Linked DNA regions of Homo sapiens: region 1 is linked to region 2. Evidence: promoter capture Hi-C in 16 types of primary human blood cells and fetal thymus (Javierre and others, 2016). All regions are on one chromosome and are shown on one strand. The core of a region is centred on a gene start or on the middle of the fragment in contact, and the rest is flanking DNA. Distances in the headings are between cores, read along the strand shown.

Evidence for each region. Contacts are between HindIII fragments. The CHiCAGO score rates a contact against its expected background, and 5 or more counts as called.
Region 1: a fragment that was not itself captured here is called in contact with the fragment with the promoter of ABCC8 in region 2 in 1 of 17 cell types (M1 macrophages); the score reaches 5.9 in M1 macrophages.

The regions. Positions count from the first base shown.
Region 1 is chr11:17,234,793-17,241,341 of GRCh38, forward strand. No RefSeq gene overlaps it. Among named protein-coding and RNA genes, the nearest start is that of PIK3C2A, 30 kb to the left of the region's middle. The HindIII fragment of the contact is 4,219 bases long and covers 914-5,132 here.
Region 2 is chr11:17,473,024-17,478,675 of GRCh38, forward strand. ABCC8 (ATP binding cassette subfamily C member 8) reads right to left here and starts at 3,822. Exons shown (of 39, transcript NM_000352.6): 1 at 3,606-3,822; 2 at 1,863-2,004. The coding sequence starts at 3,753. LOC124902641 (a long non-coding RNA gene) reads left to right here and starts at 3,628. Exons shown (of 2, transcript XR_007062609.1): 1 at 3,628-3,708. RefSeq lists an enhancer at 2,478-3,034. The HindIII fragment of the contact is 8,626 bases long and covers 1-5,004 here.

The DNA of each region.
Region 1 (6,549 bases), core at 1,773-4,272, 240 kb before region 2:
CTGCAACCTCTGCCTCCCAGGTTCAAGCGATTCTTGTGCCTCAACCTCCCGAGTAGCTGGGATTGCAGGCACCTGCCACCATGCCCAGCTAATTTTTGTATCTTTAGTAGAGATGGGGTTTCATCATGTTGACCAGGCTGGTCTTGAACTCCTGACCTTAAATTATCCACCCACCTTGGCCTCCCAAAGTGCTGGGATTACAGGCATGAGCCACTGCATCTGGCCGTCATAAAACTTTTTACATATTTGGGATTCTTTCCTTTATATAGAATTTTACAAAGTCAAAGGATATGAACATTTTTAAGGCTGAAATATAATGCTACTTCAAGGATGCATACTCAGAGACTGAAACTCTTAAACTCTTAAATGATCATGATATATTTTATACTCTTTAGAGGCTTCATTTGAATGCAGCCATCTTTGACGGGAAATGATTAAATTGCTACCCATCCAGATTTAATATGTATAGTTCATGACAGAAAGATAAACCTCTTAAGTGAACTGTCTCTGTTTCTCCAAGCTGTAAAATCTTAGAAGATGCCCAGGACAGAATGGCTCAGAAATGCTATAAGTAGGATCCAAAATATGCTTATTAGCCCTCTTATGTAAGAAGTGCTCTGTCCTCTGACATACCACAAAGAAAACAGCCTATGCTCTGGGCATGTCTTTATTCTCTCTCTCAATAGCACATTATCACACAGCACATTGTGGAACTTTCAATACCTATAGAACCTTGAGGATGTGCTAAGATGTTCTTGATCGAATCCTGATTCAGTCATTTCCTTGGATATTAAACCCTTCACCTCTCAGGCTGTATTGCTGGCTCTAACAAAGGGCTGGAATCCTCCTTGTGTAAAAAACTTTCCCTCTTGGTTGCCCTCAACAAAGTGAACAGTGGATCTCTTTAACAGTAAGCTTCTCGGCTGAGTATGGTGGCTCATGGCTAGATTCCCAGCATTTTGGGAGGCCGAGCCAGGAGGGTTACTTGAGCCCAGGAGTTCAACACCAACCTGGGCAACATAGCAAGACCCTGTCTCTACTATAAAAATAAATTAAAATAAAATTAGCTGGGCAAGGTGGTGTGCACCTGTAGTCCCAGCTACTCGGGAAGCTGAGACAAGAGGATTTCTTGAACCCAGGAGTTCAAGGCTTCAGTGAGCTATGATGGCACCACTCCTTTCCAGTCTGGGCAACCGGGCAAGACCCTATCTCAAAAATAAATAAATTAAAATTAAAATTAAAAAAAGAATTAACTTATGTGGCCAGGCACAGTGGCTCACGCCTGCTATCCTGGAACTTTGGGAGGCTGAGGCAGGCAGATTGCTTCAGCCCAGGAGTTCAAGGCTAGCCTGGGCAACATGGCAAAACCCCATCTGTACAAAAAATACAAAAAGTAGTCAGGCATAGTGGTGCATGCCTGTAGTCCCAGCTACTGAGGAGGCTGAGGTAGGAGGATTGCTTGAGCCTGGGCCCCAGAGGTTACAGTGAGCTGAGATCGTGCCACTGCACTCCAGCCTGGGAGACAGAGCCAGACCTTGTCTTAAAAAAAAAAAAATTTAAGAACAAAGGCAAAAACATTATCAAAACTCGTCACTTCTTAATTATTTTTGCTACATTTCACTGTGATCTATGTTTTGAGGTTACTTATATCTACTGCATCTGTATAGTAGAAATCCTAGGTAATGGTATGCAGTAACTGTACATCTCCCAATTCTGTACTCAGTGACATGGCAAGATTGGCAATGGTGGAAGTATTTACCCCTGCAAATGTTACAAATCAGAACTTTCCTCCCTCCTCCTCCAAGAGAGTCAGTTCTTAATCCTGAACTAGTACTCCATGCATTGTTGACACATTAGTTATAGAGCAGACCAAACAAGTTACTCAGTTGAAAAGTAAGAGCTTCAGTCAGCCTGACTCCAAATTTGTCTCTGCTAATTTAGAGAAAGCGCAGCCGGGCGCAGTGGCTCACACCTGTAATCTCAGCACTTTGGGAGGCCGAGGCGGGCAGATCACAAGGTCAGGAGATTGAGACCATCCTGGCTAACACGGTGAAACCCCGTCTCTACTAAAAATACAAAAAATTAGCCAGGCGTGGTGGCACATGCCTGTAGTCTCAGCTACTTAGGAGGCTGAGGCAGGATAATCGCTTGAACGCCAGAGGCGGAGGTTACAGTGAGCTGAGATCGCGCCATTGTACTCCAGCCTGGGACACAGAGCAAGACTCCATCTCTTACAGAAAAGAAAAAATAGAAAAATTTCAAACATATAGAAAAATAGGGAGAATAGTATAAGAATCTCTGTGTACCCCTCACCCAACTTGAGCTATGATCATGATCAGTATATTGTCTTGTTTCAACTGTATACCCACCCACTTTCCCCTATACTTGGATGACTTGAAGCAACTCCTGGCCATCATATCATTTTATTCAGTATTTATCTCTAAAAAATAAAAAGTCTTTTAAGAGTTGATTAACCCATTGGCCAGGCGCAGTGGCTCACGCCTGTAATCCCAACACTTTGGGAGGCCAAGGTGGGTGGATAACCTGAAGTCAAGAGTTTGAGACCAGCCCAGCCAACATGGTGAAGCCCTGTCTCTACTAAAAATACAAAAATTAGCCAGCTGTGATGGTGCCCACCTGTAATCCCAGCTACTCAGGAGGCTAAGGCAGGAGAATCACTTGAACCTGGGGGGCAGAGGTTTCACTGAGCTGAGATCTCACCACTGCACTCCAGCCTGGGCGACAGAGTAAGACTCCATCTCAAAAAAAAAAAAAAAAAAAAAAAAAACCCCAAAAAACAAACAAACAAAAAGTTGAGTAACCCATTGTAATAGGGAGATTAACTGAGACTCTGAAGTTAAGTAACATTCCCAAAGTGACCAAAACTGGTAAGTATATTAACCAAACTTCAAATACAAAACAATCTGTCTTCCTTTACATTCATTTACTGACTGATATAAAAATCCATGATCTGAAGATTAGGCAGCAAAACTGTAAATTCCAATAACAAATCTTAGCATTCTAAAATTTAATTTAATTAATTAATTTATTTTATTTATTTATTTATTTATTTTTTTTGAGATAGAGTCTTGCTTTGTCGCCCAGGCTGGAGTGCAGTGGCACGATCTTGGCTCACTGCAACCTCCGCCTCCTGGGTTCAAGCAGTTCTTTGGCCTCGGCCTCCTGAGTAGCTGGGATTACAGGCATGCACCACCACGCATGGCTAATTTTTGTATTTTTAGTAGAGACAGGGTTTCACTATGTTGGCCAGGCTGGTCTCAAACTCCTGACCTCAGGTGATCTGCCCGTCTCAGCCTCCCAAAGTGCTGGGACTACAAGAGTGAGCCATTGCGCCCAGCCACATTTTAAAATTTAAAAAGAAATCTGACTAGAATAAAAGCACAGTCATTCAACACTGAGCAGTAATAGGCCCACAGATTAAGTTCCTTTGGATTTATTTTTATTTTGGCTAAAAGGATTTATCTTGATCTTTGAAGGCATCAAGCATGAAGGGTGAAACCAGAGGACCAATTGTGCATGGTGAATAACTGAGCAAAATGGTTGTTCTCTCCAGCTTCCAGCACTAAAACAAATACCTTAACAGTTGCTTGTGGTGTCATACTTTCAAAAAGAAGTACTGTATTCCTAGCAGTGTGATTATTTAAAGGAAAAGCATGCAGATAGAAGCTGCACATGAGGAATTAAACTTAAATTGCCTAGCAACGTGACAGCTTTCAGCAAATGTTAATAATGACGAAGATGATAGTGATCATAATGATGAGGTTGACACATGACATATGAACCACGTGCAGGAGCAGGAAAACAAGTCAGTCACAAGTCTGTACATAATAGCTTGCAAAGCAGGTTTGGAGCTTGCCTGAGGAAAAGGCCAAAGAGGTGGTGTGTATAGTGCAGGACCTAAAACCACAGGCTTTGGAGCTGGCTTAAATTCTGACCTCCTACTACCAAATGTGTAACATTAAATAAGTTCCTTAATATCCCTGAGCCTCACTTTCCTCACTTGTAAAATGGGGATAATAGTATCTATTGCATAGTGTTGTTGTCTCACAACATAAATAAGATTAAATAAGATTATGGAGACCAGGCGAGGTGGCTCACGCCTGTAATCCCAGCACTTTGGGAGGCAGAGGTGGGCAGATCGCTTGAGGTCAGGAGTTCAAGACCAGCCTGGCCAACGTGACGAAACCCCATCTCTAACAAAAATACAAAAATTAGCCTGGCATGGTGGCATGTGCATGTAATCCCAGCTACTAGGGAGGCTGAGGCAGGAGAATCACTTGAACCTGGGAGGTGGAGGTTGCAGTGAGCTGAGATTGCGCCAATGCACTCCAGCTTGGGCAACAGAGCGAGACTCCACCTCACACACACAAAAAATAAATAAATAAAAATAAGATCAGGTGAGTGGTGTATGGTTATATCACATTGTTTGGGGGTTACCAGGATATGCACCCCAACCTGAGAAAATGAGAGACATAGGATTGCTTTTAAGAAGTGGATGAAGGAGACTAAAGGTTTCCCAGGTTGGTAATATGCTGACACTATGGATTGCATTAAGGTATCTAGAGAAATACAGTGTCATTGAGAAGGGGTAAACATGCCAGGTTTACTTGGTGACCTGAGGAGGATCTAGCCTCCTAGGTAAGTCAACAGAGAGAAATGAGGGCATGTATCTTTCAAATATGTCAATCCTATGACAGTGATGTCTCTCTGTTGATGACTGGATTAGCATTTGGCATTTGGCTCTTGTGTACTTTGGGCAGCCCAAGTCTATCATCTCTGAGGCTCTGGTCATGCTGGGGACTTTCAAAGGAAAGGACAGATCAAGCCAGACTTGCTTTACACACTGTTATGGGCAGAATTATATCCCCACTGACATATCATATTTTGAAGTCCTAACCCTCAGTACCTCAGAAAGTGACTGTATTTGGAGATAGGACCTTTAAAGAGATGACTAAGTTAAATGAGATGGTTAGGGGGCCCTAATTCAATCCGACTGATGTCCTCATAAGAAGAGGAGATTAGGACACACAGAGAGACACTAGGGATGCACACACAGAGAAAGGGCCATATGAGGAAACAGTAAGAAAGCAGTCATCTTAGCAAGGCGTGAAAGCTTACACCTGGAATCTCAGCACTTTGGGAGGCTGAGGCGGGTCGATCACTTGAGCCCAGGAGTTCAAGACCAGCCTGGGCAACATGGTGAAACCCTGTCTCTACAAAAAGTACAAAAAATTAGTTGGGCATGGTGGTGCATGTCTGTGGTCCCAGCTACCCCAGAAGCAGAGGTGGGAGGATCACTTGAGCCCAGGAAGTCGAGGCTGCAGTGAGCTGAGATTATGCCACTGCACTCCAGCCTGGGCGTGGAAGTGAGACTTTGTCTCAAAAAAAAAAAAAAAAAAAAAAAAAAGAAAAAGAAAGAAAGCAGCCATCTACAAAGCAAGGAGAGGGGCCTCAGAAGAAACCAAACCTGCTGACAACTTGATCTTGACTTCCAGTCTCCAGAACTTCAGGAAAATAAATTTCTGTTGTTTAAGCCACTCAAGTTGTGAAATTTTGTTATGGCAGCCCCACCAGACTAATATAGACAGTGCCAAGAAAAATCACCTGAAGGGTCTTATTACAATGTAGATTTGGATTCATTAGGTCTAGGAGGGAGCATGAGATGCCTTTTTTTTTTTTTTTTGAGAAAGAGTCTTTCTCTGTTGCCCAGGCTGGAGTGCAGTGGTGAGATCGTGGCTCACTGCAACCTCTGCCTCCCAGGTTCAAGCGATTCTCCTGCCTCAGCCTCCCGAGTAGCTGGGATTACAGGCATGGACTACCACAGCCAGCTAATTTTTGTATTTTTGGTAGAGACAGGGTTTCACTATGTTGCCCAGGCTGGTCTTGAACTCTTGACCTCAAGTGATCCACCCGCCTCAGCCTCCCAAAGTGCTGGGACTACAGGCAAGAGCCACTGCTCCCAGCCTGAGATGCCAAATTTCTAACAAGCTCTCAATTGATACTGATGCTGCTGGGTCACACTTTGAGCAGCAAAGCTGCAAACAACCATCAACACTTCCAGTTACACTTCTACTTTCTTTCTTTCCTTCCTTCCTTCCCTTCCTTTCCCTCCTTCCCTCCTCTTCCTTCCTTCCTCTTTCTCCTTCCTTCCCTCCTTCCTTTCCTTCCTTTCTTCCTTTCTCTCTCTCTTCCTCCCCTTCCTTCCTTTCCTCCCTCTCTCCCCTCTTCACTCCCCTCCCCTCCCTCCTTCACTCCCTCACTTCCTTCCTTCCTTCCTGTCACCCAGGATGGAAAACATTATGGCCCAATCATAGTTTACCACAATCTTGAACTCTTGGGCTAAAGCAATCCTCTGGCCTTGGCCTCCCGAAGTGCGAGGATTACAGGCATGAGCCATTGCGCCTGGCCATACTTCTGTTTTCAACAAGGATTCATCCATAATATTTATCATCCCTTCTATTTTGAAGGTCATAAATGTCCAATTCAGAACCTAATGCTTGCTGTTTAGGCCCTCTATATCTAGAGACT
Region 2 (5,652 bases), core at 2,572-5,071:
TACTTTCTCACACATTTTTAAGTTGGCAACTAAAATGTTTTATCGTATGTTTATAAATGCTTATGAGGCCCAGAAAGCCTGAATGACTTGTGCAAAGTCCCATAGCTGGTACACAGCAGCAGTGCTCACTGAAGACCCAGGTCTTCCTTCTCCAAGGGCGGAGGTGTCTTTCTCTGTCACCATCTGGTGAGTATTTCCCATCTGAGGGCTCACTGTGGCATTTGTGCTACTTTGGAAGGGGTGTAGGGGTGGGGGTGGAGGCGGACTTGTCACGTGCTTGTGTAGCAGTATGCCTTCTGGTCTTCTTGCTGGTCTAGGGACTTTAATAAGCAGGCAGAGCTGCTGCCTCCAAGTCAAGCAGGTATTTTAGAGATCACTGCTGAAGCCAGGATGCAGGGACATTGGGGAAGGGAAGGTGGGGAACGGGAGGGAGGATGAGGGAGCCTATCCCCTGCCATCCAACTACAGGAGCCAGGCAGCACTGCAGGAGTGCAGTCTGGGTATAATCTGATTCCAGCTCAGGGGGCGCTGGACCTCAGATACTCAAGCCAAATATCCCTCTCCTCCACCACTCCCTCTCCTGGCAGTCTCTCATCCTTGCTGGTTACTGGATTCTTCCTTAGTGAGATGGCTGCTCCCGCTCCTCTTCTGTCCCTGACTGCTGACACACCATTTCTGTCTGCAGTTATTGCTCACCTAGACTACTGCAGTCAATGCTAAGTCCTGCTTCTATTATACCTCTAGATTCTCCCTGCCTCCAGCCTGCGCTGAACACCTCAGGTTCCCACCTAAAAGTGTTATGCTGATGACATCTCTCTTCTGTTCCAAACTGCTGACCAAATCCGACCCAAACATGCAGGCTGGGATTCACAGTCCTCCTGAGATGCCCCAACCTGGGTTCCCAGCCTCAGCCTCCATCGCTCCCCAGCCTGTGTTTAATGCTCCAGCCCCTGCGCTGCTCCCTAGCCCTACCTGCTTTTCTCTTTGGTGCCTTTTCCCTTCCCTCAGGCACCACCAGTTCTCTCTCTCCTTCCTCCTCTGTGTGTCTGAAGCCTAGTCACCCTTCCAGACTCCGCTCCAAAGCCCTCTCAACCATGGAGCTTGCCCAATTCTGCCTTCCTCTCACCTCCCAGAGTACTTATTTGTAACATGGTTTCATTCATTCTCCTAAGGACCCAATAAATGTTTATGGACTGAATAATGTTTATGTTTATCACATGCCTTGCACTGTGAACACAAAGATGAACAAGACTCAGATTCTAACTCTTAGGCCTTTCTGACTCTGAAGACAGTTTTGCAAATAGACATAAACTTTAACATACAGTGTGATCTGTGCTGTAGCAGAGGTGTGAGGAGTGTGCTGTGAGGCCCAAACGGAAGGTGGGCATGGGGAATGAGGCCAGAGATAGGTGGGGCTGACTGTGAAGACCTTGAATGGTGGGCTGAGGATCTGAGACCACATCTTCAAAACAGCTGAGAACCAAGGAAAGGTCTTATGCAAGAGTGGGTGGCATGGTTAGATTTTTTTTTTTTTCCAAGAAGGTAACTCCGGCAGGTTGTAGAAGAGGCCAGACATTTTTCACTGGAGTTGTGGCATTCTAATAGGCTCTAGCATTATTTCACTGGGACTTGGCATGCAGGTCCGTGTTCCCTCTGCTCTCCTGGACTGATGGCAGGGCCTGGGACTCACTTGCGTCCAGTGCCCAGCTCAGAGAGGTTGGCACATAGAAGACACTGAGCTGCTGGATGTAGTAACAAAAGACATGGGCTTGTGGAATATAGGTGAGCTAGGATCTCCTTGGGCCTTTCAGGAAGTACCCTGGAGCAGATTCACTTTCCTGAGTCCTCAGACAGTCACTCACCCATCAGACAGGATGCCCTCTGCAATCTCACACACCAGGACGAAGAGCAGCATGAAGGTCAGGATCCACCGCAGGTTGTGCCCAGGGAAATGAAGCCATGTGCTGTGGTGGATGTGCACCTTGGAGCTCTGACTTCCCCATCCTGCAGGGAGAGACAGTCAGAGGCAGGATGCCTGCCCACTTGGAGGAGGAAGAGGGTGCATGAACCCCAGAAAGGTGCTTGGGCATTGGGTCCATGGTGAGGGTGACACCTACACATGAGGATCCCCAAGGCTGGTACACACAAACTAAACGTCCAACTCATTCAGCCTGGTCCTATGCTGGTACCTCCCCCACCACACCTTTTTACTGAGACAGGGTCTTGCTCTGTTGCCTCTGCTGGAGTGCAGTGCCACGATCACGGCTCACTACAGCCTTGATCTCCTAGGCTCAAGTGATCCTCCCGCCTCAGCCTCCTGAGTAGCTGGGACTACAGGCGCACATCACCATGCTCAGCTAATTTTTAATTTTTTGTAGAAAGGGCGGGGGGGGTCTCACTATGTTGCCCAGGCTGGTCTCGAACTCCTGGACTCAAGCAGTCTTCCTGTCACAGCCCACCAAAATGCTGAGATTACAGATGTAAGCCACTGTGCCCTGCCAAGGTACCCCATTATACATACTAACTTCTTGTGTGACAAGTCATCAGGTTAATAAACCGTTTGGCTGAGAACAGAAGTGTAAATGCTGTTCTTTTTTGATTTTTGATGCACATATGAGCACATATTTTGTATGTTTTATTTCTATTTCTATCTAACTGTCTTTGTTAATAACTAGCAACTCTGCTTCTGCAGCAACCTCTTGTAAATCTAATTTTGTGACAATCTTTCCTTTCTTCCCCAAAGCTGTATATGAATTTTAAGATTTGCTTGTTTTCTTAAAGTGAATGAACACGTTTTGGGGATGCAGGGGACACCCTATGAGTTGATAGACTTGACTGGTCTGGAAGAGTCAAGGTCTTGGAGAGAGATGGGGGGGACCTCAGTGGAGAGGCACGCACGATTGTCCCGGCCGTGGCGCCCAACTTTGCAAGCAAGGGCGCCGGGGTCGCTGCGTCGGCGAGTCGGAGCTACTTTGCGCAGAGCCTGAGAAGTTGCGCTCTGGAGACACATGCCCGGGTGGGGTGGCGGGGGAAGGGAATCCAAGTCCCTAGCTCTCGCCTCTCCTCGCCCAGGGCGCGGGCCTGGGACTGTCAGAGATCACGGACCACTGCGCGGCTCAGCCCGGTGAAAGCATAGGGGTTAGCTGGGCCTCCATCCCAGACTCCAAAGCACAGGCTTCCCTCTTCCCTAGGCCCAGCTGCGGCTGACAGGGAGGCTGCCTTGCGGGAGGGGTGACCCGGCTCCCTAAGCTGCGCCACGGAGGGTGAGGCCCGACCCCTCTCCAGTTTCCCACTGCGTGCTGAGACCTCCTCTTTCCCTTTTCCCCATCCCAGCTCTTGGCCCTGCAGAAGCAAAACTTGGTGATCCCATGGGTCACAAACGTCCGCTGTGTTTGGCGCGGGATCGGGGGCACCGGGGGAGTGAAGGGATGAGCTGGTGTGCGAGTGCGGGGACCGGCGGGCAGGACACAGGGCAGGGGACCCCGGGAACGAGGCGGACGGCGGTCGCGGGCCGGAAGGGGACGCCGAGCGGTGCGGCGCGCAGCGCCTCCTCCTCCCTCCCTGCTCTCCCGTCCCCTCCTCCGCGGCTCGCTGCGCGCACTCACCAATGAAGAGGATGGGGAAGGTGATGAAGAGTAGGAAGACGTGCGGCACCACGTTGAGCGCGTCCACAAAGCAGCCGTTGTTGAGGACCCCCTGGTCCACCCGGTAGGCGGCCGAGTGGTTCTCGCTGCCGCAGAAGGCCAGGGGCATGGCGGCGCGGGCGCGGGCTGGGCTCGGGCTCAGCTGGCTCCGCTGGCTCCGCGCGCCTGCCGCGCCTCTGTCCCTTGCAGCTCCGCCGCCCGGCCCGGCCGTCAGGCCCCCGCCCCCCGGGCCCCGCCCAGCCCCGCTGGCCTCCCCCTCCCTCACCCCGCCCTGCTCCACCACCTGCGGGGCCGGGGGGCGGCGAGGAACCCGACCGGCCCTGCTACGCTTGCGCCCACCTTCCAGATGTGGAGGCGCGTGCTCCCAGATGTTGCCGGGGTGGCTTCGTGAGTGCCCTGATGCACGCGTGCGCTGGGGGAGAGGGGAAAGGCAGGCTAAGATGGGGAGTGGGGTGTGGGCACACTGGAGTCTGGGTGGGAAAGGAGGGTGGGGCGTGCAGAAGAGGAGAGAAGGGCCCGCAAGGCCTGGAGTGGGCGGGTTCAGGGTCCCGAGTGTGAGTTCACCTGGGCGTGGTGCGGATGGATGTAGAGAGCCGAGGGATGGCGCAAGTCTCCACCCAACATGGATGAGAAAAGTGGGGCAGAACGTTACCTTGTGGTGGTGGTGGTGGTGGGGTGGGGCTTGGACATTTTCAAAAGTGGTCCCAGGTGGGGCACTCCTAGGTACTGCTTTACAGCGTATCTGGCACTTTCACACAAGGGATGTCCCAGAACTCTTGCTAAGTACAGGTTCTAATCGCTTCCAATTTTCTGATGGGGAAACCCAAGCTGCGAGGGAGCTGAAGGGAGGCCAGTAACATGACTTCCCCCAAGGTCTCAGTGCCAGCAAGCAGGGAAGCATAGCTTGAACCCAGCTCCTCAGGTCCCCCGTCCCCACCCCCATCATTTGTACTCATGCCTCTGGTACATGACAACCTTACAGCGACTGGCAGACCAATGGGTAGAATGGGTGACAGCCCCAGGCTGATAAAGAGGAGTTTAAGAAACGCATCTGGCCAGATGGATGTGAGGCAGTGGAGAGGGACTGAAATTCTTAACCTCACCTGGGACAGGCTTAACAGTTGGAGGACACCGTGCAATTGTAAAGACAACATTATGTCTTCCTATACGTTTTGGAGAGATTCTCACAAGACTGTGGCCCAAAGAAGTTTATATTGTATGTAGAAAGAACAGAAGATGGGATTTGGGGGTTAGATTTAAGGAGAACTTTCCTAGTTAGGGTATGAAGCATAAATGCACATGTTCTTAGGAACAGTCAGGGGAACACAAAAGAAAGACCCCTTCAGCCCCTTTGCCTACAAGCTTCACTGAGCCTGCCCTGAGGCTGCTGAGCCTGGTGAGCCTCTCCAGCACGCTGTCAGCAAGGCCGAGGCTCTGCCCAGGCCCTGAGGCAGAGGGCAGATGGGGTTGGGTGAAAAGCCTTGGGAAAGCAGGAGTTCAGGGTCTGAATGCCTCAGTCTCTGACTTTGGAGAATTTCTCAGAAGCCAAAAGATGTTTCTTGCAGCATCAGCCAAAATAGTGAAAACTTGGTGGCAAGAAATATCCAGCACCAGGGACAGGGGTTAATCAACCTTGAAAAATGCAACTGCTGGGACGGTGCTAGCTGAGTCTGTGTAGTCAATAGAAAAACTTTACAAGATAGTGTCAGGTGAAAAACGGCAAACAAAATTGTGCTTCCCATGATTATAGCCGTACGAAATATGTATACTTGCATGAAGCCTGCAGGGAAAGGTCAGACTTGGAAATTTGGTAAGGCGGTGCTCAGTATGTACTGGCTGCCGTCGCTGTGCTTATCCTCATTCCCTTTCTTTAAAAATGAGACAACTGAGGTTCAGAGAGATGAGATGACAGGTCCATGGTCACCCAGTAAGATTTTTTCTTTTAGTTTGTTTTTCTTGCTTTCAAGGTTTTTTTTTTTCATATTTTCTGCAATGTTGTTATTTTCTT